2 separate regions of the Homo sapiens genome follow, and region 2 is linked to region 1. Evidence: promoter capture Hi-C in 16 types of primary human blood cells and fetal thymus (Javierre and others, 2016). All regions are on one chromosome and are shown on one strand. Each heading gives the region's core, a stretch centred on a gene start or on the middle of the fragment in contact. The rest is flanking DNA. Distances are from core to core; before and after follow the strand shown.

What was found. The method cuts DNA at HindIII sites, captures the fragments that hold promoters and counts their contacts. A CHiCAGO score of 5 or more calls a contact.
Region 2: a contact is called between a fragment that was not itself captured here and the fragment with the promoter of TRPC7 in region 1, in 1 of 17 cell types (endothelial precursors). The highest score is 6.9, in endothelial precursors.

The regions. Positions count from the first base shown.
Region 1 is chr5:136,363,493-136,367,152 of GRCh38, forward strand. It overlaps TRPC7 (transient receptor potential cation channel subfamily C member 7), which reads right to left and starts at 2,053. Exons shown (of 12, transcript NM_020389.3): 1 at 1,761-2,053. The coding sequence starts at 1,762. The HindIII fragment of the contact is 9,012 bases long and covers 854-3,660 here.
Region 2 is chr5:136,757,949-136,761,228 of GRCh38, forward strand. All of the region lies in intron 3 of CTB-1I21.1 (a long non-coding RNA gene), which reads left to right. Among named protein-coding and RNA genes, the nearest start is that of CTB-1I21.1, 25 kb to the left of the region's middle. The HindIII fragment of the contact is 3,798 bases long and covers 1-3,280 here.

The sequences.
Region 1 (3,660 bases), core at 803-3,302:
ATATACCTAACTACCCCAAGGTATACACGAGTTCATACATTTCACCAGTTAAATCCTACAGGAAACAAGCAAAGTATCCTTCTTTTACTCATTAAAATGTTTTATATTAAGATATACTTTCCAAATAATTCTACTAATGTGGGATGGTTTTTCCATTGCATCTTGGAATAAAAATATTATCTAGTGTTCCTGAATGTTAATAAGTGTTTCTATTAGTAATTTATTTTCTACCAAGTAACATCATTTAGAGAAGAAGTTATCCTCAGTTTTTTCAAACTGTCCTAGGTACCACCTATCCAAATATAACTAGTGCTTTGTATGTGCTTCTATTTTTCTTTTTACTTTTAAAATCCTTATTTTCCTATTTGGAAGTTGGAAGTTATGAAACTGGATGTCTATATCTCATTGTGTATAGCTCCAGGTGGAGCTGAAACAAGTTTTGATAGCTTTATTTTTAAAAAAGATTTTTCTTGAAATAAAATAGATATGTGTAACCTTTTGATGATTTCACTGACCTCTATGATAAGAGTCTGAAATAAACATCTACTACTGAGAAAGAAAGAGAGGCCCTTATATTATGAAATGACAATACTGAAAAAAAGTAACATGCTTAATATTTATATGGAGGGAAATGTTGATTGCCTTTACTAAGCAAGAGCTCCTGGTAGCTCTCATCCAAGATACCGCATGCATTCTGCAATTAGCCTCAATGAGGCTCCACATAGTTCTGATTTTTTTCTGGGTTAATTACTGCCTAAAGGAGTTATCTAGTCTACATGCACCTAAGTTTAGGAGCAAGTGTTTTTGGAAATAAATATTTATGAAAGGGTAATTGTGACATAGAAGTTTGGTAAGCTTTTAAATAATTGAATCAATGTCATTGTTAAAAAGATCTTGGAGATTGGGTTTGCATCACATCCATAATGAATATTCTGGATTTAATGTGAATTCATTCATAAATTTGATGTGTACTCGGTGCTTCAGAAATAAGACCCACCAGCAGGTGGCATTCTGAGGCAAAAATTCACTGAGTGCCACCAGACAGGGTCAATCATTATTGCCTTTTCTGAGTCTACCCTGAATCCATTACGCCTCTAAATTATAATTAATAGCAATAGCATTTTGGTTGTGTCTACTCAATCATAGGTAAATGAATTTACAACTTCAAACTTAAAGGGGAGATTATGAGAGTTTCAAAGCTCTGCCTAGATTACACCTCTTTCATTAGGAGCATATTTGTTATTTTGAAATGGATGTCTAAAGGAGATACATAGCTCAGACCATATTTTCAACAAGAAGAAAAGAAAAATGACAATCTCTTTCTTGCCACCTGTAGTTCTTTAACAGTGGCTACTTATTAGAATATAACCCTCTCCCTTCTCTCACCCCTATATTTATATTATGATAAATACAACCACATAAATACATTAGAAAGCTGTCAGTAGTGAAGGGAAAGAAGAGACAACACCTATACACTCATCTAGGAATAAAACTATATTACTCTAGCACAAAAGGAATAGGCTACCGACATGAGTTGTCCGTTTCTAAATGGCTTTGAAAACTTAGACATTCTATAAAAGAAAAAAAAAATTTCTTCTACCAACTCAACAAATAAGAAAGATCTCAGATCCATCTAAAAATCTAAGCAGTGCACTAGAGGAAGAAGGCTGATAAATGAAAGTTCAATTACATATTTTAGCGAGAACACAACCTCTACTGGAAAAAAAAATCAATATGAAAGAACCATCATAGCTGCTTACATTGAGGGTGTAATACGCAGGCTTGTTCCTCCTCTAGATGACCGGAATCCGGTGTTGAGTCGCCAGAAGCTGGCTCCCCATGGGTGGTAGCCAAGGATGTACCGCTCTCCGTGGTGCTGAAGTATAGAGCTGGTCAAGTGAGTTAAGTTGCAACGATGTGAAAGCGCGCTCCTCTGTTCTTTGTGTTGCAGTGGTAAAAACTCGCCTTCCGAGGCAGAACCGTGTTACCGTCCTTTTCCTAATCGGGGGGAAATTTCCCAGAGAACATGACGGAGAAGCATCTGTGTGAGAGTGGCATGCGGCGTGGTGATGGGTTGGTATAGTCCCCACCCCCTCTCCCCGACGTAGCTTGAAAGGGAGGTAGCAACTCTTTCTTCCTGCCATAGCTCCTCAGGATTTCTACCTGCCCTTTCCTCTGCCCCAGAATAGTACATCACACACACACACACACACACACACACACACACACACACACACACCTCGTTATATAAGGCAGCATGTTCTGACTTCTGAGGCAGAATATTCATTGGTTTAAACAAATGAGGAATGAGGAATGAGGAATGAGCTGGTTTCCTACCTGTTGTGTCTGTGTGTTTACAGAGGGAGGGGGTTAAGAAGAAAACTAAAACCAGAGAAGCCTAAAGAGCGATAGAAGTAGTTTTCTTCCGTAAGTCTCATCACCACACCACACTTTGTCTTCTGTGAGTGATGTATCTTCCAACTTTACTATTTTGGTTCATGATCTTTTAGCATTATCTAGGATCAGGAAGAGGTCAGTGGTGTAGAACAAGTCTCACATTAGTAACAAGACTAAAAGGGTTAGCTTTCATTTGCAACTTTCCATTTTTTGAAACGAAATTCTCAATCCAAAATACCATTTCCCCAACAGTTCCCACGCTCACCAATTGCTATGTAACCAAATGGTCTATGATTCTTAAACACTGAGGTACTTTAATGACATCATTGGAAAGAAACCGTCTTAACTGAAATATTGCCTGTGTATGAAAAACCACAGTTGCTTCTACAATCTACCTGGGTTACTTACCAATAAATCAGAGTGGTTATTTTCTGAAATCAACTCACAGCTTAATAACTGACACTCTGTAAAACTGTTGCTGTGTGCACTTGCAATACTTAGGGCTAAGGAGTTGCTTATAATGTATTGTACACATGACCATTCTAGTTTTACATCCAAATGAGATTGCATTGGTTTGTTAATATGCTACTAGTATTTTCTCTGAAGATAACATGATATGTGGGAAAAGACCTTGGGATTTTGATTCACTTATTAACTGTGTGACCTTAGACATAACACTTAACCTATTGAATCTCAGTCTTCTCATATGTGAATGGTTGGTAATAATAGGGTTTATAATGCCTTTTACCAATTGTCGTGGTGATAATTAATTGAAAAATCATGTACAAATAACTCCAAAGAGCTGGCATTTAAGGTGTGCATGATAAGTTTGAAAGTTCGTTTTAATTTTTTAAAAATTTGAGACAGGGTCTCACAGTGGTACAATCACGGATCACTGTAGCCTTGACCTCCCAGGCTCAAGTGATCCTCTTGCCTCACCCTCCACAGTGGCTGGGAATACAGGCACATACCATCAGACCTGGCTAATTTTTAATTTTTTAGTAGAGACCTTGTCCCACTATGTTGCCTAGGCTGGTGTCGAAATCCTGGGCTAAAGCTATCCTCCTGCCTCGACCTCACAAAGGGGTGGGATTACAGGCATAAGCCACAATACTCGACCCAGTTTGAATGTTCTTTCTCCTCTGCTTGCTCAATAGAAGTTAAGGTAGTTCTCTAGTTGTGGGCATGGTAGTGTGAACCTGTAGTCCCAGCTACTTGGGAGGCTGAGGAATAAGGATCACTTGAACCCAGGAGGCTGAGGTT
Region 2 (3,280 bases), core at 296-2,795, 390 kb after region 1:
TATTTGTAACATTGCAAATATATATGCCCCCAATATTGGAGCACCTAAATTTGTAAAGCAATTATTAAATAATCTGAAGGGAGAGATAGAATGAGTTACTATTATAGTATGGTGCCTCAATACCCCACTTTGGACAATGGGCATATTATCTAGACAGAAAATTAATAAACATTGGTCTTGAATTATACTTTAGACCAAATGGACCTGACAGACATATACAGCACATTCCATCCAACAACAAAATACACACTCTTCTGAAGTACACAGGGAACATCTTCCAAGGTAGATCATATTTTAGGCCACAAAACAAATCTCAACACATGTAAGAGGAATGAGGTCATATCACGTATCATTTCAGATCTCAATGGCATAAAACTATAAATCAATAACAGGAGAAATCTTGGAAAATACAGAAATATGTGGCACATATTTCTGTTACAGTTTCAGTACACAGATCTTTTACCTCCTTGATTAAATTTAGACCTAAGTATTTAATTTTTTTGGTTGCTATTGTAAGTGGGATTACTTACTTAATTTGCTATTCAGATAGCTTGTTATTAGTATAAGGAAATGTTCCTAATTTTTGTATGTTGATTTTGTAACCTGAAACTTTACAGAATTTATCAGTTTTAACAGTTTTTTGGTGATGCATTTATGGTTTTCTATACATAAGATCATGTCATCAGCAAATAGACTTGCATTTCCCTAATGATTAGTGATGTGGAGCACACTAATAGGTCACAGAAGAAATAAAAAAGGAAATAAAAAATACCTTGAGACAAACACAAATGAAAACACAACATACCAAAACTTAGGAAAAGCAGCCCTAAGAGGAAAATTTATAGCAACAAATACCTATATATAAAAAAAATTCACAATCTACTGTTATAACTCAATAAATTGGTAAAAGAACAAACTAAGCCCAAAGTGAGCAGAAGAGAGGACATAGCAAAGATCAGAGTAGAAATAACTGAAATAGAGACTAGAAAAACAATAGAAACATTGATAAAACTGAAAGTTAGTTTTTTGAAAAGGTTAAAAAAGAAAAGACAAACCCTTAGCTAGACCAACTAGGAAAAAAAGAATAACTGCTCAAATAAATAACATCACAAATGAAAGAGGAGACATTACAACTGATACCACCAAAATACAATAGATAATAAGAAACTAATATGAACAAGTATATGCCAACAAATTGTAAAACCAAGAACAAATGGATAAATTCCTAGATACATACAACCTACCAAGAATGAAGAATGAAGAAATAGAAAATCTGATTTGACCAGATTTTCTGGTCAAATCATGAGTAAGGGATTGAATCAGTAGTTAAAAAAAAAAAAATCTCTCACCAAAGAAAAGCCCAGAATCAGACAGCTTCACTACTGATTCTTTCCAACACTTAAAGAAGAACTAATACAAATTCTTCACGAATCCTTCCCAAAAAATCATGGTAGAAAGAATACTTCTGAACTTGTTTTACAAGGCTAGCATTACCTTTTTACCAAGGCCAGACAAGGACACTACAAGAAAAGAAAATTACAAGCCAATATCCCTGGTGAACACAGATGTAAAATCCTCAATAAAATATCAGCAAACTAAATTAAAGAGCACATTGAAAGAATAATTTACCATGAACAAGTAGGATTTATCCCTGGGATGCAATGATGCTTCAATATATGCAAATCAATAAATGAAATATACCACATTAATGAAATGAAGGATAAACGTTATATGATCATCTCAACAGATACATAAAAACTATTTGACAAAATTCAACGTTCCTTCATGATTAAGAAAAAACTCTCAACAGATTAGGTATACAGGGAATTATCTGAACAAAACAAAGCCCATACATGACAAACCCGTAGCTAACATCATTCTCGATGAAAATTTGAAAGCTGTTCATCTGCGATCAGGGACAAGACAAGGATGCCACTCTCACCACTTCTTTTCAACATAGTATTGGATGTTCTAGCCAGAGCAATTAAGCATGAGAAAGAAACAAGAGACATTCTAATAGAAAGGGAAGAAGTAAAATTATCTCTATTTGCTGATGACATGATCTTATGTATGGAAAACATAAATGCTTCACTAAAAATCTGTTAAAACTGATAAATTCAGTAAAGTTTCAGATTACAAAATCAACATACAAAAATGAGGAACATTTCCTTATACTAATAACAAGCTATCTGAATATCAAATTAAGTAAGTAATCCCACTTACAATAGCAACCAAAAAAATTAATACTTAGGTCTAAATTTAATCAAGGAGGTAAAAGATCTGTGTACTGAACCTGTAAAACACTGATGAAAGAAATTGAAGAGAACAGAAATAAATGGGAAGATATCGCATGTACATGAATTGGAAGAATTAATGTGAAAATGCCCATACTACCCAAAACAATCTACAGATTCAATGTAATTCCTGTCAAAATTCCAATGTCATTTTTTAAGGAATGGCCAAAACAATCCTTAAATTCATGTGGAGCCACAGAAGACCCCAACAAGTGTCTAATATCCAGAATCTATAAGGAACTTAAATAAATCAACAAGCAATAAACAAACAGCCTCATTTAAAGATGGGCAAATGACATGAGCAGACACTTCTCAAAAGAGACATACACATGGCCAAAAAGTATATTAAAAAATGCTCAGTATCACTAATCATTAGGGAAATGCAAATCTAAACTACAATGAGATGCCACCTCACACTAGTCAGAATAACTATTATTAATAAAATCAATAAACAGCACGTGCTGGCAAGGTTGTGGAGAAAAGGGAATGCTTATATACTACTGGTGGGAATGTAAATTAGTTCAGTCATTAGTTTCAGTCATTAGTAAATTAATTCAGTGGAAAGCAGTCTAGAGATTTCTGAGAGAACTTAGAATTATAATTTGACACAGCAATCCCATTAGTGGGTACATACCCAAAGGAATATAAGTCATTCTATCATAAAGAGACACACACACACATGTTCATCACAGCACTAGTCACAATACCGAAGACATGGAATCAATCTAAATGCCCATCAATAATGGATTGGATAAAGAAAATGTGGTGCATATACACCACAGAATACTATGCAGCCATAAAAATGAAATCATGCTCTTGGCAGCAACATGGATGAAGCTGGAGGTGATTATCTTAAGTGAATTAATACGGGAACATAAAACCAAATACTACATGTTCTCACTTATAAGTGGGAGCTAAACATTGAGTATACGTGGACACAAAGAGGCCTACTTGAGGGTGGAGGGTAGGAGGGGGGTGAGGATTGA